Linked DNA regions of Homo sapiens: all the other regions are linked to region 2. The links are contacts of gene promoters, found by promoter capture Hi-C in blood cells and fetal thymus (Javierre and others, 2016). All regions are on one chromosome and are shown on one strand. Each heading gives the region's core, a stretch centred on a gene start or on the middle of the fragment in contact. The rest is flanking DNA. Distances are from core to core; before and after follow the strand shown. Region 1 has its middle 49 kb from the start of KANSL3. Region 2 holds the start of CNNM4 (cyclin and CBS domain divalent metal cation transport mediator 4). Region 3 has its middle 32 kb from the start of ARID5A. Region 4 has its middle 12 kb from the start of FAM178B.

Region 1 (4,908 bases), core at 1,502-4,001, 170 kb before region 2:
TTATCCTCCATTATGTAAAAAATTACTTCCTTGTTTTTTATTTCATTTTCCTTTCATGGCTTTTAAAAATTGAAAAAGAAAATTGAGAGACAGGGTCTTGTTGCCCAGGCTGGACTGCAGTCGCTATCCACAGGCCTGATCATCGCACACTACAGGCTTCAACGCCTGGCCTTAAGCAATCTTCCCGAGTAGCCAGCTTTCCCTTCATGACTCTTAATTGTGTTCTACTGCTTCTACTTCTGTCCTCTATACTTCTTGGCTCTTTTGATGCCTTCTGAGAGAATTCCTAATTCTAATCTTCCAGTTAATTAATTCTTTAGCCATATCCCTTCTACTTTTTATCCCATAATTACCTTGTTTTAGCTATTATATTTTCTATAACTAGTATTTCTGGGTTTTTAAATAACAGTTTCCTGTTGTTTCATATCAGTATCTGACCAACCATAACTCCTTACATATATTAGTCACATATTAACTTATCTCTTCCAATAATTCTGCTTCAGAAAGTATATGTTGTCCACTGTTGCCTTTTGTGAGGTGGCTGTCTCCTCAAATGTTTAGTTTTTGGGGGGTGGTGTTGAAGTAGGCCAAGTGGGAAACTAAAACTTCAATCCCAATGAGTGGTAATAAAGCTCCCAACCCCCACTCTTCTTGTGCCATTAGAGACCATGTGGTTAGCCTGGAAATCTACCCACCTGGCAATAAGACACAACCCTGTCCCAGCTTAGGTGGCATCAGCAAAGACCTAGTGAAGAGTCAGGGCATTTACCTCTGCCTAGAAACAAGAACATGTGAGAAAGACCAACAAGGTACTCCTGCCCTTCCAGCTAGGCTGGCTGGCAGCAGCAGAGGCCAGGTGGGGAGCCAAAACTCCCACCTCCACCCAGCAGTAAAGACTCCACCCCAATGTCAATGAAAGCCAAGTGGGGATCCTAGACTTCCACCCCATCTGGCAGTAACAAAGTTCCCCTATGAGAGCAGTGTCAGATGAGGCCTGCTAAAACAGAAGATTTAAAGAAGATCGAGTTTCATAGATAACACTCAAAATGTCCCAGTTTCATCCAAAACCACTCAAAGAATATATCAAGAACCAAGAAATTCTCAACTCAAATAAGAAAAGACAACCAACAGATGCCAAAATTGAGAAGACACAGATATTAGAACTGTCTAACAAGGATTTTCAAGCAGCCATCATTTAAAATGCTGCAATGAGCAATATCACACTAAGACAAATGAAAACAGAAATCCTCAGGAAGGATACAGAAGACATAAAGAACAAAACAAATTTGAGAAATGAAAACTAGAATAACCTAAATGAAAAAAATCAATGAATAGGCTCAACAGCAGAACAGAAGGGACACAAGAAAGAATCCGTGAACTTGAAGACAGAACAACAGACACAATCTGAAAAGAGAACAAACCAACAGAAAAAAAACAAAAGAACAGAGCCTGAGGGTGCTGTAGGGCTATACCTAAGATCTAATAGTCATGCCACTGGGGGCATGATGCAGAGGAAAAAGAAGGAAGCACTGAAAAAATAGTGGCTGAAAATTCCCCAAATATGGTAAAAAGGCTTAAGCCTATACAGGTTCAAGAAGCTGAGCAAATCCTAAACAGAAAAAAAAAACCAAAATCCATGTCAAGATGCATCATATTCAAACCTGAAAATTAAAGAAAAAGAAAAAATATTGAAAGCACAAAGAAACAACACCTTATCTACAAACGGGAAACAATTTGAATGACACTGAATATCTCATCAGAAAACAAGAAAGCAGAATTTTCCAAATTCAAGAACAGAATTCTGTGGTCAACACAGAATTTATCTAGCAAAACTATCCTTCATTAATGAAAGGTAAAATTCAGACATTCTCAGACAAAGGAAAATTAAAAGAATGTGTTGCCGCTGACAACAAAGAAGACTGGCTAAAGAGAGTTCTCTAAATAAGAAGGAAATGGTAAAAGAAGGAATCTTGGAACATTAGGAAGAAAGAACAATGGAAAGAGCAAAAATATGGGTAACTACAATAGACTTCCCTTTTCTTTTCTTTTTTTTTTGGAGACGGAGTCTCGCTCTGTCACCCAGGCTGAAGTACAGTGGTGCAATCTCGGCTCACTGCAACCTCCGCCTCCTGGGTTCAAGCAATTCTCGTGCCTCAGCCTCCGGAGTAGCTGGGATTACAGGCGCCCACCACCACACCCAGCTAATTTTTGTATTTTTTTGAGTAGAGACAGGGTTTCACCATGTTGGCCAAGCTAGTCTTGAACTCCTGACCTCAAGTGATCTGCCTGCCTTGGCCTTGCAAAGTGCTGGGATTACAGGCTTAAGCCACCGCACCCAGCCCTTTTCTTAAGTTTTCTAAATTATATTTGAAGCAAAACTTACAACACTGTCTAACGTGGTTCTCAAAGTACATAGATAGTTATACTAGAGGTGGAAGAGGGTAATGTGGATACCAGGAGACTGTGGTAAGTTACATATATATAAAGTAACATTTTGGAGCAACCACTAAAAAACTATACAAGGAGATACAACTCAAACCGCTATGAATAAACCAAAATTGTATTCTAAAAAAAGTGTTCAAGTAACCCACTTACAGGCAGGAAAATGAAAACAAAAAATGGAAAACAAAAACTAAAATGGCCAACTTAAGGCCTAACATTACCTATAATTACATGTAAGAAAACAGTCTAAAAACTCTAATTAAAAGAATGATATTGGTATAGAAGAAAAATCATATGCTACATGCAGTCTACAAGAAATTCACTTGAAATATAATGACATAGGTAGGGTGAAAACAAAAGAATAAAAAATATGTCATGCAAACATAAATCAAAAACAAGTAGAATGGGTATAGTGTCAAATAAAGTAGACTTCATGGCAAAGAAAACCAACAGGGACAGAGGGACATTACATAATGATAAAAGGGTCAATCCACCAAAAAGACACAGAAATCCTAAAAGTGTATGTACCAAATAACAGAACTGAAAAATATGTGTAATAAAAACTGACAGAACTGAAAGGAGACATAGACAATTCCACAATTATAGTTGGAAATTTCAACACCACTCTTTACAGTTGACAGAACAACTTGACAGAAAATCAGCAAGGATATACAAGAACCTGACAACACCATCAGCCAACAATTTTATCGACATTTATGGAACACTCCACCCTACAGCAGAACACATTTAAGCACCCACAGAATACATACCAAGATAGATCACCCCTGGGCCATAAACCTCAACAAATTTAAAAGACCACAATGAGATACCACTACACACCTATTAGAATGGCTAAAATAAAAAATAAAAGAGGCCAGGCGCAGTGGCTCACACCTGTAATCCCAGCACTTTGGGAGGCTGAGGCGGGTGGATTACCTGAGGTCAGGAGTTCAAGACCAGCCTGGCCGACGTGGTGAAACCCCATCTCTACTAAAAATACAAAAAAAAAAAAAAAATTAGACAGGTGTGGTGGTGGATGCCTGTAATCCCAGCTACTAGGGAGGCTGAGGCAGAATTGCTTGAACCTGGGAGGCAGAGGTTGCAGTGAGCCAAGATTGCGCATTGCACTCCAGCCTGGGCGACAGAATGAGACTCAGTCTCCCAAAAATAAAATAAAAATAAATAAATAATAAAAGAGACAATATAGAATGCTGGCAGGAATGCCGAGAAAATGAATCTCGCATACACTGCTGATAGGAATGTAAAATAGTACAACTACTCTGAAAAACAGTGGCAGTTTCTTTTTTTTTTTCTTTAGAAACAAGGTCTCACTCTGTTGCTCAGATTGAGTACCATGGCACGATCACAGCTCACTGCAGCCTTGACCTCCCAGGCTCAAGCAATCCTTCCATTTCAGCTTCCCAAGTAGCCGGGACTACAGGTGCGCGGCATGACACCCGGCTAATTTGTATTTTTGTAGAGGCAGGGTCTATCTATGTTGCCTAGGGGGTTTCAAACTCCTGAGCTCAAGCAATCCTACCATCTTGGCCTCCCAAAGTGCTGGGATTACAGGTGTGAGCCATCAGGCTGGGCTGGCAGTTTCCTAAAAAATTAAAAACTTAACATATGACCTAGTAATCACACTCCTGGTTATTTACCAGAGAGAAATGAAAACTCATGTTCTCATTTTAAAAACTGCATACAATTGGCTGGGCACAGTGGCTCACACCTGTAATCCCAGCACTTTGGGAGGCCGAGGCAGGAGGATTGCCTGAGGTCAGGAGTTTGAGACCAGTCTAGCCAACATGGTGAAACCCTGTCTCTACTAAAAATACAAAAAAATTAGCCGGTCCTGGTGGTGTGTGCCTGTAATCCCAGCTACTCAGAAGGCTGAGGCAGGGGAATTGCTTGAACCAGGGAGGTGGAGGTTGCAGTGAGCTGAGATCGTGCCACTGCACTCCAGCCTAGGCGACACAGCAAGACTCCGTCTCAAAAAACAAAACAAAACAAAACAAAACAAAACAAAACAAAACCACTGCACACAATTGCCACAGTAGCTTTATCTGTAATAGCCCCCAACAGGGAACAAACTAGATGTCCCTCAATAGGTGAATGAATTGTTACACAAACTGTGCTAAACCCATACCATGAAATACCACTCAGCAATAAAAGGAATGAACTACTCATATACACGTAACAACTTGGATGTGTATCAAGGAAATGATATTGAATGAAAACAAGACAATCTCAAAAGGCCATGCACTGTAAGATTCTATTTATACATCAACCTATTTAGGACAAGTAGAAGAGATTAGTGGTTGCTAGGGTCAGGAATGGTGGGGAAGGAGATGGATGCAACTATAAAGGGGTGGCATGAGGGAGATCTTTGTGCTGATGGAACCATTCTGTATTTTGTTTATGGTTACAGCGATAAAATGACATAGAACTATACACACACATTGTACC
Region 2 (4,321 bases), core at 922-3,421:
CGCCTTGGCCTCCCAAGGTCCTGGGACTACAGGTGTGCACCATCATGCCAAGCTAACTTTTTATTTTTTAAATTTTTAGTGGAAATGAGTTTTTGCTATGTTGCCCAAGCTGGTAATCCCACATTTAACCTAAATATCTAAAAAACTTATTTTTCCTTTTCTTTATTGGCTTCTGTCATTAGACTCAGTGCATATGAACAGAGCTTCTGAGTGTAGACAGCCTGAAAAGGGTAAAATAAAAGGAGCCAATTCGTACTTAAGCAGAAAAAAGACATAATAGAGAAAAAAATAAAATCATAAGAAAAAGGGAAAAAATAGCCAATTGATTGATAATAGAATGGGAAAGTTTCTAAGTATGGGAGGTGGGGGTAGGGGTGGAGCAGGGCGCTGGTGTTACAGCTCACTAGGAGATGAGGAGAGCTGGGTTTGCTTTGAGGCAATTCAGGTAGCTCTTCCTGGTTGGTGGAGACAGGGAAGGAACAGGCAGTCAAGGTTCTGCTTTTGTTCTGTCTCAGCCAGTGCCCATTCCAAGGCTCCTATTCCTCGAAAAAACTGACCTGCTGGGCACTCACTGCAAAGTATCCGCTATGAGTGGGGCCCCTACTAGCAACATACTTCTCCAGGCTGGCCTAGTTTACAGAACCCTCAATCCCAGCTAACAGGGCTTTCTTGAGTCAGGGCCTCTCTGCTACCACACCTCCTCCCACAACATTGTGTGATCCTTTCTGTTTAGGCTCCTTCCGTTTGGTACTGATTGCTGCTTTTATTAGCAAACATTACACCAAAATGAAAATAAATACAAGTGTCAGTGCGGGAAGGGAGTAAAGTGGGTTCTGTGTCTTCAGTACTGGCAAAAGATTTGCTGTGAGACCTGGTGGTCAACCCAGTACCTGATCTTCTCTGTGCACCTGTGCAATTATTGTAAGGATGTTTATCTGTCTGTCTTCTTCCCCCTCACAGGGCGGGCAGCTGTGGTCTTCCTTATACACCCTACTGACACAGGGCTAGGGCCATTCAGGAAGCAGTCATTTCAGGGATAGGCCCACTGCCGCGCCTGCCTGCTCATGTCCACAAGCAGCTGCCCAGCTGATCAATCACCACAATTTGGGGTTAGGAGTTTGGTCCTGGAAGGCAGGTAGCAACAACTACTACCTAGCCAAAGAATATTCTAAAGAGCTGTCCTGTCATGTTCAATGTCTAGGTCCACAATCCCGCAAGCTTAGCGAAGTAATGCTCTGTCATTCTTACCCCCATTTACAGATGGAGAAATGGGCTGGGAGATGACAGTATGGAGGCACCAGGATTTTTGTCTCGGCTCAATTTCTGCATCTCTAAATGGAAATAATTCTACTAACTCTGAGGGTTGTTGGGGGGATTTAATGAATATATGTGTTTACTTGTTTATCTCCTGTTTTCTGTTCTAGACTGTAAACCCCAATGGGCAGCGACTTTGGCTTGTTCACTGCTCTATTGTCAGAGCCTAGAACAAGTGCCTGGTACAAAGTAGGTGTTCAATAAATATCTATGCCTAAATGGAAGAGACAGGAGAGAAGTCTAGGCCAGAGCCTGCCCCTTCTATAACCTTAGTTCCCCAGATTTGCCTTCCACATCAGGCAGCCACTGGTTGATGGAAGCATCGTCGGGCTGGGGCTGGGGCTGGGGTAACCTACTTCTGGCCTTAGGACAAGGTCGGCAAAAATCTCAGCAGTGAGGAGGCCAGAAAAGTCTCCAAGGGGCAGGCTGCAATGCCAGCCTAAGCCCTCAGGTTTCCTTTTTCTTTTTCTACATCAGGAAAAGCACTTTTCTCGCCCTGCCTGCAGAGCGGGCCACCCCTAGCTGCAGGTGAGGGACGGGAGAGGAGCCTCCCACGTGCGGCCGTGCGAGGCCGAGGAACAGGAACGGCGTAGCTAGGAGACCAGGTCCCGGAGAAGGAGAGCTGGCCCCACTGGCAGAGAAAGGCGGGGAAGGGCGCGGAGGCGGAGCACTGGGCGGGTACCCGCTGGCGGCTCTCGCGCGGCGGCGCTGCTCCACCTTAAGCGACTGTACCCCCTTAAGGGCGGGCGCTCAAGCAGCGAGCCCCGGGGGCGGGGCCTCCAATGCAAATGAGGGGCGTGGGCAGGCGGGGCGGGGCGGGCGGGGCGCTGACCTGACGTCAGGCTCGCGGCCCGGGCAGTTGGCTCGGCGGCAGCGGAGCGGCCGGAGCTGCGGTGCGGACCGGGGCCGCGCGGCGTGGCGCGGGGAGCGGCGGCGGCGGCAGAGCCAGAGCAACATGGCGCCGGTGGGCGGGGGCGGGCGCCCGGTCGGCGGACCGGCCCGCGGGCGCCTCCTCCTGGCGGCGCCGGTGCTGCTGGTGCTGCTGTGGGCGCTGGGGGCCCGGGGCCAGGGCAGCCCCCAGCAGGGCACGATCGTGGGCATGAGGCTGGCGAGCTGCAACAAGTCGTGTGGGACGAACCCGGATGGCATCATCTTCGTGTCCGAGGGCAGCACCGTGAACCTGAGGCTGTACGGCTACAGCCTGGGCAACATCTCCAGCAACCTGATCTCCTTCACCGAGGTGGACGATGCCGAGACCCTCCACAAGTCCACCAGCTGCCTCGAGCTCACCAAGGACCTGGTCGTCCAGCAGCTGGTCAACGTGAGCCGCGGGAACACGTCCGGCGTGCTGGTGGTGCTCACCAAGTTCCTCCGGAGGAGCGAGAGCATGAAGCTGTATGCACTGTGCACCCGGGCCCAGCCCGACGGGCCCTGGCTGAAGTGGACGGACAAGGACTCACTGCTCTTCATGGTGGAGGAGCCTGGGAGGTTCCTGCCTCTCTGGCTGCACATTCTCCTAATTACGGTGCTGCTGGTGCTGTCGGGCATATTTTCTGGCCTCAACCTCGGGCTTATGGCCCTGGACCCCATGGAGCTGCGCATCGTGCAGAACTGTGGCACCGAGAAGGAGAGGCGCTATGCCCGCAAGATTGAGCCCATCCGGCGCAAGGGCAACTACCTTCTCTGCTCGTTGCTCCTAGGGAACGTGCTGGTCAACACCTCCCTCACAATCCTTCTAGACAACCTCATCGGGTCCGGCCTCATGGCGGTGGCCTCCTCCACCATTGGCATTGTCATCTTTGGGGAGATCCTACCTCAGGCCCTGTGCTCCCGACATGGGCTGGCTGTGGGTGCCAACACCATCCTTCTCACCAAATTCTTTATGCTACTCACCTTCCCCCTCAGTTTTCCCATTAGCAAGCTCCTGGACTTTTTTCTGGGCCAGGAGATTCGCACTGTTTACAACCGGGAGAAGCTGATGGAGATGTTGAAGGTGACGGAGCCCTATAATGACCTCGTGAAAGAGGAGCTCAATATGATCCAGGGTGCCCTGGAACTACGGACCAAAACTGTAGAGGATATCATGACCCAGCTCCAGGACTGCTTCATGATCCGCAGCGATGCCATCCTGGACTTCAACACCATGTCGGAGATAATGGAAAGCGGCTATACTCGCATCCCGGTGTTCGAAGACGAGCAGTCCAATATTGTAGATATTCTCTACGTCAAAGACTTGGCCTTTGTGGACCCCGATGACTGCACCCCCCTCAAGACTATCACTCGCTTCTATAACCACCCGGTGCACTTTGTCTTCCATGACACCAAGTTGGATGCCATGCTGGAGGAGTTCAAGAAGGGTAAGGCCAGATGTAGTTCCCCTGGTTCAATTTCCTCTTGACGCCTCTTTTCCCCTGGCGTGTTTTGTGTCTGCTGGCTTTAGTGTTCTGTTTGTGTGACTCTGTGTCCCTTTGCCTATCGCTTCCTATGCTTCTGAGGTGAACGATTTTGGAGCGGTAGACCCATTCTCAAGTGTCTGCCGTCTGCCAGGTAGTGTGCTGTGTGCTCCTGATGAATCAAAGCTGAATAAGACATACTCGCTCCCTTGGAGGGCTGGAGCAAGACCTCAGGGAGCTATTGAAGCAAGACAGAGTAAGACAGATGCCTGAAAAGAGGCCAGGGCGATGGAGATTTAGAGTATGGGGTGGAGTCAGGAAGGGGCTGGGAAATTGGGGAATCCACAGGGGAAGGAGCATTTGAGGAGAATCTTAAAAGGTAGAGAGGCTTGCTGCTTGAGGCAGAGGGAACCCCGCAAGCAGAGAACCGGAGTGGAGAAGCAAAAGTGTGCTTGTGGCCCAGCAGGTGGTCCTGTTTGGTGGGTATAGTGGCTCTGATGCTTAGTGGTCAATGGCTGGAGTAGTTTGGGGCCCGGTGGTGGACGCTAAGTTTGCTCCCAGCTTGGGAGCTACAGGTTTTTGAGCAGGGGAGTCATGTTACTGGAGGTGCTAGC
Region 3 (4,761 bases), core at 1,068-3,567, 190 kb before region 2:
TTTCCTATGCTTTATGTTGACTTTACCATGTCCTTAAGTAAGAAGAGAAAGTCTTACCACTTTTATAAAGAGCTAAGGTTCTTTACAATCATGTTACCTCCCATGTTTACTTTTAAAATATTTTCATTGTCACTTTAGCTAAATGGGGTAGCTAAGTATTGTTTCTCAGTAATCTATGACCCTAACTTAAGTATTCAAACCTCCTGACAGCTTTTGATATTCTACCTTTCCCAAATCAAATCCTAAATGGTATCTTTCACACCTACAACTGTCTTTGAGATTTCCCAGAGGGTCCCTGGAAAATCACTTAGGATTTGTTCTTTCACCTTGTAAAAGGAGAGGTACTAGAAGTAATTCAGCTTATCAGATATGTTATTAATAAATTGCATGGGAAGCTTTTGAGGTAGGAGGCAGGATTAGACTCTGGGGGTGGAGACTTGGACAAGAACGAGATTGAAGACTAGCTAAAACAGGGCCAGCGCAGAAGCAGCTTTCCATAAGACTGGCACACCCAAAGGTTACTGCCCCTTTCTGTGGCAACCACCCAACGACCCAGAAGTTACCACTCTTTTCTAGAAATGTCTGCATAACCCACCCCTTAATTTGCATATAATTAAAAGTGGGTATAAATACGACTGTAGAACTGCCTCTAAGCTGCTACTCTGTGCACACTGCCTATGGGGTAGCCCTGCTTTCTAAGGTGCAGCACTTCTGCTGCCGCTGTGCACTGCCGCCTCTATAAAAGTTGCTGTCTCACCCCACCGGCTCACCCTTGAATTCTTTCCTAGACAAAGCCAACAACCCTCCTGGGCTAAGCCCCAATTTGGTGGGGGTGGGAGGGGGCTCGCTTGCCCTGGATCACTTTGTCAAATCAGAAGAGATGCTTTTTTTTTTTTTTTTTAAGACAGAGTCTCGCTCTGTGGCCCAGGCTAGAGTGCAGTGGTGCGATCTCACCTCACTGCAACCTATGCCTCCCAGGTTCAAGCAATTCTCCTGCCTCAACCTCCCGAGTAGCTGGGACTACAGGCATGCAGCACCATGCCTGGCTAATATTTGTATTTTTTGTAGAGACAGGATTTCACCATATTGGCCAGACTGGTCTTGAACACCTGACCTTGTAATCCACCCACCTCGGCTTCCCAAAGTGCTGGGATTACAGGTGTGAGCCACTGCACCTGGCCTTTTTTTTTTTTTTTTTTTTTGAGTCGGAGTCTCACTCTGTCGCCCAGGCTGGAGTGCAGTGGTGCGATCTCGTCTCACTGCAAGCTCCACTTCCTGGGTTCAAGCGATTGTCCTGCCTCAGCCTCCTGAGTAGCTGGAATTACAGGCATGCGCCACCATGCTTGGCTAATTTTTGTATTTTTAGTAGAGATGGGGTTTCACCATGTTGATCAGGCTGGTCTCAAACTTCTGACCTTGGCCTCCCAAAATGCTAGGATTACAGGCGTGAGCCACCGCGTGCTGGCCTGGGCTATTATTAATATAAAATTTTCAGAAATTGTATGCTTTATGGGAAATTTCTAGACAATCATCAATGTCTTTGCTGTCCATGATATGTTTATGATTCCTGGTGCTCCTTTGCCTAATATTAGACAAAAACAGTATAGTGCTATCAGTTATAATTTGTTAGTTTTTAAAATGTTAACTTGGTTGCAGCTTTAATTCTCTAATGTGAATCTACTATCTTCTGGGCCAGGGTTTTTAATTGAGGATTCACATCACTTAACTATGGAGTTTTATTAATATACAGGTGTCTAGGACCTAATCCAGATTTGCTGAATCTCTTTCCTCAAGTCAAATAAAAACAAACCCAGACTACGTAAGGAGACTTTATTGGAGCAGTTATTGCAAGGGGGTGTGGTAAGGAACTATTGCCGGGGGAGGTTGCTCTGACCATAAGATCTGCAAGTATCTGAGAGGGTGGGCAAAGTGCTTTTATTTTGTAGAGAGGAGTAAATAAGGCTAGAAAGATCCAGGTATGGGAAAGTGGAATGGGAGGGTGGCATTACAGGATAGCAGACCCAAGAATGTCTTATCCCAAAGCCAGTCTATTTTCCTCCCACTCCGCCCCCGCTTTTTTTTTTTTTTTTTTTTTTGTGTGTGAGTCTCACTCTGTCAGCAAGGCTGGAGTGCAGTGGCATGAATATGGCTCACTGCAGCCTCAACCTCCTGGGCTCAAGTGATTCTCCTACCTCAGCCTCCTGACTAGTTGGGTCTACAGGCATGCACTACTACATCTGGCTAATTTTTAAATTTTTTGTAGAGATGGAGTCTCACTTTGTTGCCCAGGCTGGTCTTGAATTCCTGGGCTCAAGAAATCCTCCAGGCTCGGCTTCCCAAACTAAGGGGATCACAGGTGTGAGCCACTGCACCTAGCCCAGTCTGTTTCCAGAAGTAGCAGGACTGCCTGCTGGCTCAGGTTGAGGGTGGGCCAATACTTAGGAGCCTTGGGGGAAGCAGAGAATATGAACCAAAGATTTTGATTTTGTTCCCATTTTGTCCAGTGGGGACAAAAGAGTTCAGCTAATCATTTATGAGGCAAAGAATGGGAATTTGGAGAGTCTGTCTGACTTGGTCAAGGGTAAACAAGGAGCATTTGGGAGTCTTATCCAAGTCATATAGGGAAGGGTGGTCTTCACAGTGAGCTGTTTCCTGGAGGGCAGAGTGCGGGGATTTCTCAGCCTTTGCCGTTTTCCAGAAACACAGGGCTCTCACAAAACTTAACACTGTCATTTGTTATATACTTGGTATATTCATGATATATTATGTCCATGTTTGTTATGTTTTATATCTTAAGATTTTTTTCCCTGAAAAGGTTCACTAATTTTTATAAATTAGATATAACATCTACTTTTCTTTGAAAATAGGGTCAATCATTATATTCATAGATATTTTGCCTAAAAATATTTTGACTGACTTCATCTTGTTTTGCATGCCCCAAAAACTGCAAATATTCTTGAGTTGCATTATCTTTGTAATGAACTCTCATCATGCCTTTCACTTTTGATAATTATAAGCAGTATGTTAACCATAGTCATTTTAAGTCTTCTGTTATCTACCAATAGTGTTCTGTTTTACTCTGATGCTTCTCTGAAAGGACTTGAAATCACTTCAATAAAGAAGGACTGTCTCAGAGCTCCGTGGAAAAGGACTATGCCAGGTACCTTTGGGTATAGACTTCTGATGGCACTACTTAAGCAACTTTGAGACCACATAATTGAACTGAGTCAGGATTTCTAAAACTCTAGTTGAGAAACAGATGGATTCATGAGACTACTAACCTAAGATTGAGCAGAACAGGAATTAATGACATAGGACTGAATGAACTGATGGGGGATGGTTGTGGGTTTTGCTTGGACTATTGTTGTTTTAATGTTCTATTTTCTGAATACATAAAGAGCTCCTTTATCTTAAGCTATCTATAACTCATAACAATTTAGTAGACTATGTTCTTTAAAATGAACATTTGTGTATTGGTCCATTCTTACACTGCTATAAAGAACTATCTGAGACTGGGTAATTTATGAAGAAAAGAGGTTTAATTGACTCATAGTTTGGCAGACTGTACAGGACGCATGGCTAGGAGGCCTCAGGAAACTTACAATCATGGTGGAAGGCCAAGAGGAAGCAAGCATGTCTTACCATGGCGGCAGGAGAGAGAGAGAGTGATGGGGGAAGTGCCACACATTCTCAAACAAACACACCTTGTGAGAACTCACTCACTATCATGAGAACAGCAAGGGGGAAATCTGCCCTCATGATCCAATCATATCCCATCAGGCCCCTCTGCTGACATGTGGGAATTACAATTTGACATGAAATTTAGGTGGGGACACAGAGCCAAACCATATCAATTTGCAAATGGTGTATTTTTCTTACTGCCTGATCCTTCCAGAATTTGGAGTATTCTTAATTTCATTGCAATATAATTATTTGCACAGGTTCAATAAGAATCTGTCCTCCTTGTTTACGGGACAGAATTAGAAACATTGGTTATGCAACAAAGGCCTTTAAATCTTTTGTCATCTACAGATAGTTTTTTTCTTTTACTCTGGTGCCTCCCCGAATGTCATGTTTGAGAATGATGCTCATTTAATCAGCTATGACCAGATACTTTAAAGAACTAAGGTTGACTTTTTGGAGCCAATGTTTACAAAATGCTCTTGGGAAAACTGGCACTGGAGTACATGGTTTCAGCCTTACAGGTGAGTAAGAAAGGTCACTTCCTGACAGTACCAGGAAGCTTAGGATATTCTGGAGACTCAAGAAAAGAGGAATTTGTCCAAATTTATAGGTACTGCATTTAAAGTATGATGGCAAGTTCTTAGCTTGGCTTCCTAGCCTCAAGAGAATTTTAAAAGCTCAGTCTGAAAGTCCTGATGAAAACTTTCAACAAAGTAAACTTAAGAAGACCTGTGTGGCAAATTACCATTCTTACTCTACCTATGTGAGTAATCAGACAAGTCTAATGAGACCAGCCTTATTTTGTGATCAAGTGTTGATCAAGAATAATAGTTTTTTGTTTGTTTCTTTGTTTGTTTTTTTGAGACAGTCTCACTCTGTTGCCCAGGCTGGAGTGCAGTGGCATGATCTTGGCTCACTGCAACCTCTAGCTCCTGGGTTCAAACGATTCTCGTGCCTCAGCCTCCTGAGTAGCTGGGACTACAGGCACATGCCACCACGCCCAGCTAATTTTTTTTTTTTTTTGTATTGTATTTTTAGTAGACATGAGGTTTCACCATGTTGGCCAGGCTGGTCTCG
Region 4 (4,610 bases), core at 1,711-4,210, 240 kb after region 2:
GGTTATGAGAGCCGGGATTCCAGCCTGGGGCTCTTGTTGCTACTGGCCTGTCTCTCCCCTCATCTCTCGGGGTTTTGCCCTCACTTTAGGGATCCACTGCCCTAACTTCTTTGTGTTCAGGCTCTGTGTCCTTGAGACCCTCCACATTCCTCCCAGAAGACCCTGGAAGGAACAGAAAAGGAGCTTTGGCAAACAGGGCTGCTTTAGGTAGTACAGCAACCCCAGCACAGAGGACCCTTGCAGGGCCTGGCCACATCCAGCCAAGGACCTCCCCGATCTCCTCCTCTTCCTCCTCCTCTCCCTCCATCCCTTCCCTTCTCCTCCTTCTCTTCCTCCTCTTAGGATCTCTCTTCCCTCTGCCCTGCTCTGCGGAACCACGTGCTATATGTGCCCACTCCTGGTGAGCTGATCTCTCAGCCCAGTTAAGAAGGCATCTTTCAAACGGTCCCTTGGATAGTGATCCTAGTGATGGGACCGACTTGGGGGAGAGGGGCTGCAAGTTGGCCTTGCTCCTTCCCAAGTCATCCCATGTGAATGGCTGCTTATTCTTCCAGAGGCCAGCCTGGAGTGACACTTTCAATTTTTTTTTTCACTTATAGCCCCACTTTGTGTAATCATCATGTTTTGATCCTCTACTATGTGCTATATACAGTACATACATTTTAACGTATTCCCTATAATCACCCTATAAAAGGGAAATTGGGGGTTCAGAGAGGTTAAGTAAATTGCTCAAGTTGCACAGCCACGAGGTGCAGGGCCATTTGAATGCATGTTTCTCTGATTACAGAACCCATTCCTTCCCCTCCATATTCCACTGCCTGATTTCAAAGAGGTTACTAGAGAAAAGATAGAAAATCAGAACCAGAAAGAGGAGGAAAAGCCAAATTCTGTTCAGGAAGGCTAATGTGATTATTGTGAATGAACATTAAACCTGGCTCTAAGCTTCTTGGAAGCAAGAGAAGAAGAGAAGCGGGTGGGGAACACAAAGGACTCCATGCTTCTCTTTATAACATAGAGTTTCTACAATAGAAGGAAATAACGTGTTTTTCCTTATTTTCAATTCCAAAAGTAATTTCTCATGTGTGATTTTATACAAGGACATTATGTAACAAAATGGATGTAGGTTTGAATAACCAGGTATATCAAAAGATGGAGAAACAATTGTCCTGTATAATGCACCCTTCATTATGCAGTCATTCAACAAAGACTGAGCACCTGCCACACTGCCTAGACTCAAAACATGTGCAAAAAGATAATAACCTTGCCATGTACTCAACCCCACAATGGAGGTGTGCCCGGAGGCTGCAGGAGCACACAGAAGTGACATGGGGACCCTGCCTGGAAGGGTCCGATGACCTCAGGCAAGGTAACATTTGCCCAAAGTCTTGAAATTTGAGTTGGAATTTACTATTTATCTCCAAGAGGAGAAAAAGCATTCAAGGAAAAGGGAATAAAATGTGCAAAGGCATGAATGCTTGAGGCCTGAGATGTCGCTTATCAGTGGGCAAGTGCAGGACTCCTAGGTGTCAGCCAGCCTGAGGAGGACCTTACAGGGCAGGACAGAATCCAGTTCAGGTTCAGGACTCAAGGAACAGAGGCCAGAGACAGGAGGGGTGCGAAACAGGGAGTCCCAAAGGAGGTGGTTGTAAAATTGAGTGTGGGAGTGGATGTCAAGGCCCTTAATAGGGGCCACTCCAGGGACTATTGCTGGGGAAGAACCGACAGACATGAGAGAGAGACGGGAGGGGGATTCCACTGTGTTAACTCAGAGGATGACCCCATTTACAAGGTGAGTGGGGTGAAGGTGAGCTCAGCTGGAAGCCATGCCAATTTTGTTTGTTTACTGCAAAAATACTTTATTTTATATATCACTAGCTGTGAATTTTTGTCATTAGTTGTTGTATGAATGCTGCCTAGTGCCATTAACCAAATGGCATGACCATTTTACGTCCACAATTCACTTCTGTATTGACAGAATTTTCTCTCTCTTTTTTTTTTTTTGAGACAGTCTCACTCTGTTGACCAGGCTGGAGTGCAGTGGCGCCATCTCCACTCACTGCAACCTCCACCTCCCAGGTTCAAGGAATTCTCCTGACTCAGCTTCCCTAGTAGCTGGGATTACAAGTGCTCACCACCATGCCCAGCTAATGTTTGTGATTTTAGTAGTGATGCGGTTTTGCCATGTTGGCCAGGCTGTTCTCAAATTCCTGACCTCATGATCAGCCTGCCTCGGCCTCCCAAAGTGTTGGGATTACAGGCATGAGCCACCGTACCCAGCCTACAAACAGAATTTTCATGATTGATGTAAGTAAACCTGTCAGTGAAGATTTACCATTGAGATGCAGTCTAACATCCGTAACATCTGATGTTTTGCAGACAGCAATGTAGGAGAGACTTTTTTTTTGAGACAGAGTCTCCCTCTGTCGCCCAGGCTGGAGTGCAGTGGGGAGATCTCGGCTCACTGCAAGCTCCGCCTCCTGGGTTCACGCCATTCTCCTACCTCAGCCTCCTGAGCAGCTGTGACTACAGGCGCCCACCACCACGCCTGGCTAATTTTTTTGTATTTCTAGTAGAGACCTGGTTTCACTGTGTTAGCCAGGATGGTCTGGATCTCCTGACCTCGTGATCTGCCCACCTCGGTCTCCCAAAGTGCTGGGATTACAGGCCCGAGCCACCGCACCCGGCCGGAGAGATGTCTTTTTAATCACCTTTCATTTAAGTGCCCTTATGTAAAAAAATAAATAATTTGGAAGTTCTAAGTCTCCAAAGGACATTTTTAAACGTACATATAGAAATGGTTACAATGGGCTGGGCACGGTGGCTCACGCCTGTAATCCCAGCACTTTGGGAGGCAGAGGCGGGCGGATCACGAGGTCAAGAGATTGAGACCATCCTGGCCAACATGGCGAAACCCCGTCTCCAATCATGGATTTCTGTGCTTGCTTGAATTTGGGGATTTCCCTTCTGCTCTTCATCCTTTGTATTTTTAGTAACTAAAAATACAAAAATTAGCTGGGCGTGGTGGCGCCTGCTTGTAATCCCAGCTACTCGGGAGGCTGAGGCAGGAGAATCACTTGAACCTGGGAAGTGGAGGTTGCAGTGAGCCGAGATCGCGCCATTGCACTCCAGCCTGGCAACAAGAGCGAAACTCTGGCCGGGCACGGTGGCTCACGCCTGTAATCCCAGCACTTTGGGAGGCCGAGGCGGGTGGATCACGAGGTCAGGAGATTGAGACCATCCTGGCTAACACGGTGAAACCCCGTCTCTACTAAAAAATACACACACACACAAAAATTAGCCGGGCGTGGTGGCGGGCGCCTATAGTGCCAGCTACTCAGGAGGCTGAGGCAGGAGAACGGCGTGAACTCGGGAGGCGGAGCTTGCAGTGAGCCGATGGCGCCACCGCACTCCAGCCTGGGAGACAGAGGGAGACTCCGTCAGAAAGAAAGAAAGAGAGAAAGAGAGGAAAAAGAGGAAAGAAAGGAAAGAAAGGAAAAGTTCCAATGGGCCAGACGCAATGGCTCATCCCTGTAATCCTAGCACTTTGGGAGGCTGAGGCGGGTGGATCACCTGACTTCGGGAGTTTGAGACCAGCCTGACCACCATGAAGAAACCCCATCTCTACTAAAAATACAAAAAATTAGCTGGGCGTGGGGGCGCATGCCTGCACTTCCAGCTACTGGGGAGGCTGAGGCAGGAGAATCGCTTGAACCCAGGAGGTGGAGGTTGCAGTGAGATGATATCACCCCATTGCACTCCAGCCTGGGCAATAAGAGCGAAACTTTGTCTCAATAAATAAATAAATAAATAAATAGAAATAGTTACAATGAAAGCTGGGTGCGGTGGCTCACACCTGTAATCCCAGCACTTTGGGAGGCCAAGGCAGGTGGATCACCTGAGGTCAGGAGTTCGAGGCCAGCCTGGCCAACATGGTGAAACCCCGTCTCTACTAAAAATACAAAAATTAGCTGGGCATGGTGGCAGGTGCCTGTAATCCCAGCTACTCCGGAGGCTGAGGCAGGAGAATGACTTGAAACCGGGAGGCAGATGTTGCAGTAAGCTGAGATCGTGTCACTGCCCTCCAGACTGGGCAACAGGGCGAGACTCTGTCTCAAAAAAAGAAAAAGAAAAAAAAAGAAAAAAAAAAAGAAATGATTACGAGCCTTTTTTTTTTTTTTTTTGAGGCAGGGTCTTACTTTGTTGCCCAGGCTGCAGTGCAGTGGCATAATCACAGTTCACTGCAACCTAGACCTCCTGGGCTCAAGGAACCCTCCCACTTCAGCCTCCCCACTCTTGACATCCCCACACCCCCACCCCAAGTAGCTGGGTCTACAGGGGTACACCACCACATCTAGCTAATTAAAAAAATGTTTTGTAGAGAAGGGGGGTCTCAAACTACTAGCCTCAATCAATCCTCCCACCTCAGCTTCCCAAAATGCTGAGATTATAGGCATGAGCCGCCATGCCCAGCCTACAGACTTTTAAGAGATATTTTCCATGTCCACAGCCTATTGTAATTGCTGTACCACTTTCTCTTCCAACTGCTTTCCTTTGCCTGCAAGAGGAGCTTGAATAAGATAAATGTTTTGCTTGACTTCTTTGATGTCCTG

The links. Contacts are between HindIII fragments. The CHiCAGO score rates a contact against its expected background, and 5 or more counts as called.
Region 1: a fragment that was not itself captured here is called in contact with the fragment with the promoter of CNNM4 in region 2 in 16 of 17 cell types (megakaryocytes, M2 macrophages, M1 macrophages and 13 more); the score reaches 14.1 in megakaryocytes.
Region 3: a fragment that was not itself captured here is called in contact with the fragment with the promoter of CNNM4 in region 2 in 14 of 17 cell types (megakaryocytes, M0 macrophages, M2 macrophages and 11 more); the score reaches 12.7 in megakaryocytes.
Region 4: a contact is called between a fragment that was not itself captured here and the fragment with the promoter of CNNM4 in region 2, in 2 of 17 cell types (total CD8 T cells and non-activated CD4 T cells). The highest score is 7.5, in total CD8 T cells.

The regions. Positions count from the first base shown.
Region 1 is chr2:96,586,553-96,591,460 of GRCh38, forward strand. It overlaps a transcript of KANSL3 not described here. Among named protein-coding and RNA genes, the nearest start is that of KANSL3, 49 kb to the right of the region's middle. The HindIII fragment of the contact is 8,293 bases long and covers 1-4,908 here.
Region 2 is chr2:96,758,731-96,763,051 of GRCh38, forward strand. It overlaps CNNM4 (cyclin and CBS domain divalent metal cation transport mediator 4), which reads left to right and starts at 2,172. Exons shown (of 7, transcript NM_020184.4): 1 at 2,172-3,671. The coding sequence starts at 2,270. RefSeq lists enhancers at 1,610-1,659, 2,219-2,808, 2,680-2,929, 2,809-3,397 and silencers at 1,990-2,409, 2,533-2,716. The HindIII fragment of the contact is 3,226 bases long and covers 1,217-4,321 here.
Region 3 is chr2:96,566,224-96,570,984 of GRCh38, forward strand. No RefSeq gene overlaps it. Among named protein-coding and RNA genes, the nearest start is that of ARID5A, 32 kb to the left of the region's middle. The HindIII fragment of the contact is 3,848 bases long and covers 394-4,241 here.
Region 4 is chr2:96,995,955-97,000,564 of GRCh38, forward strand. It overlaps the pseudogene LOC100420569. Among named protein-coding and RNA genes, the nearest start is that of FAM178B, 12 kb to the left of the region's middle. The HindIII fragment of the contact is 4,040 bases long and covers 941-4,610 here.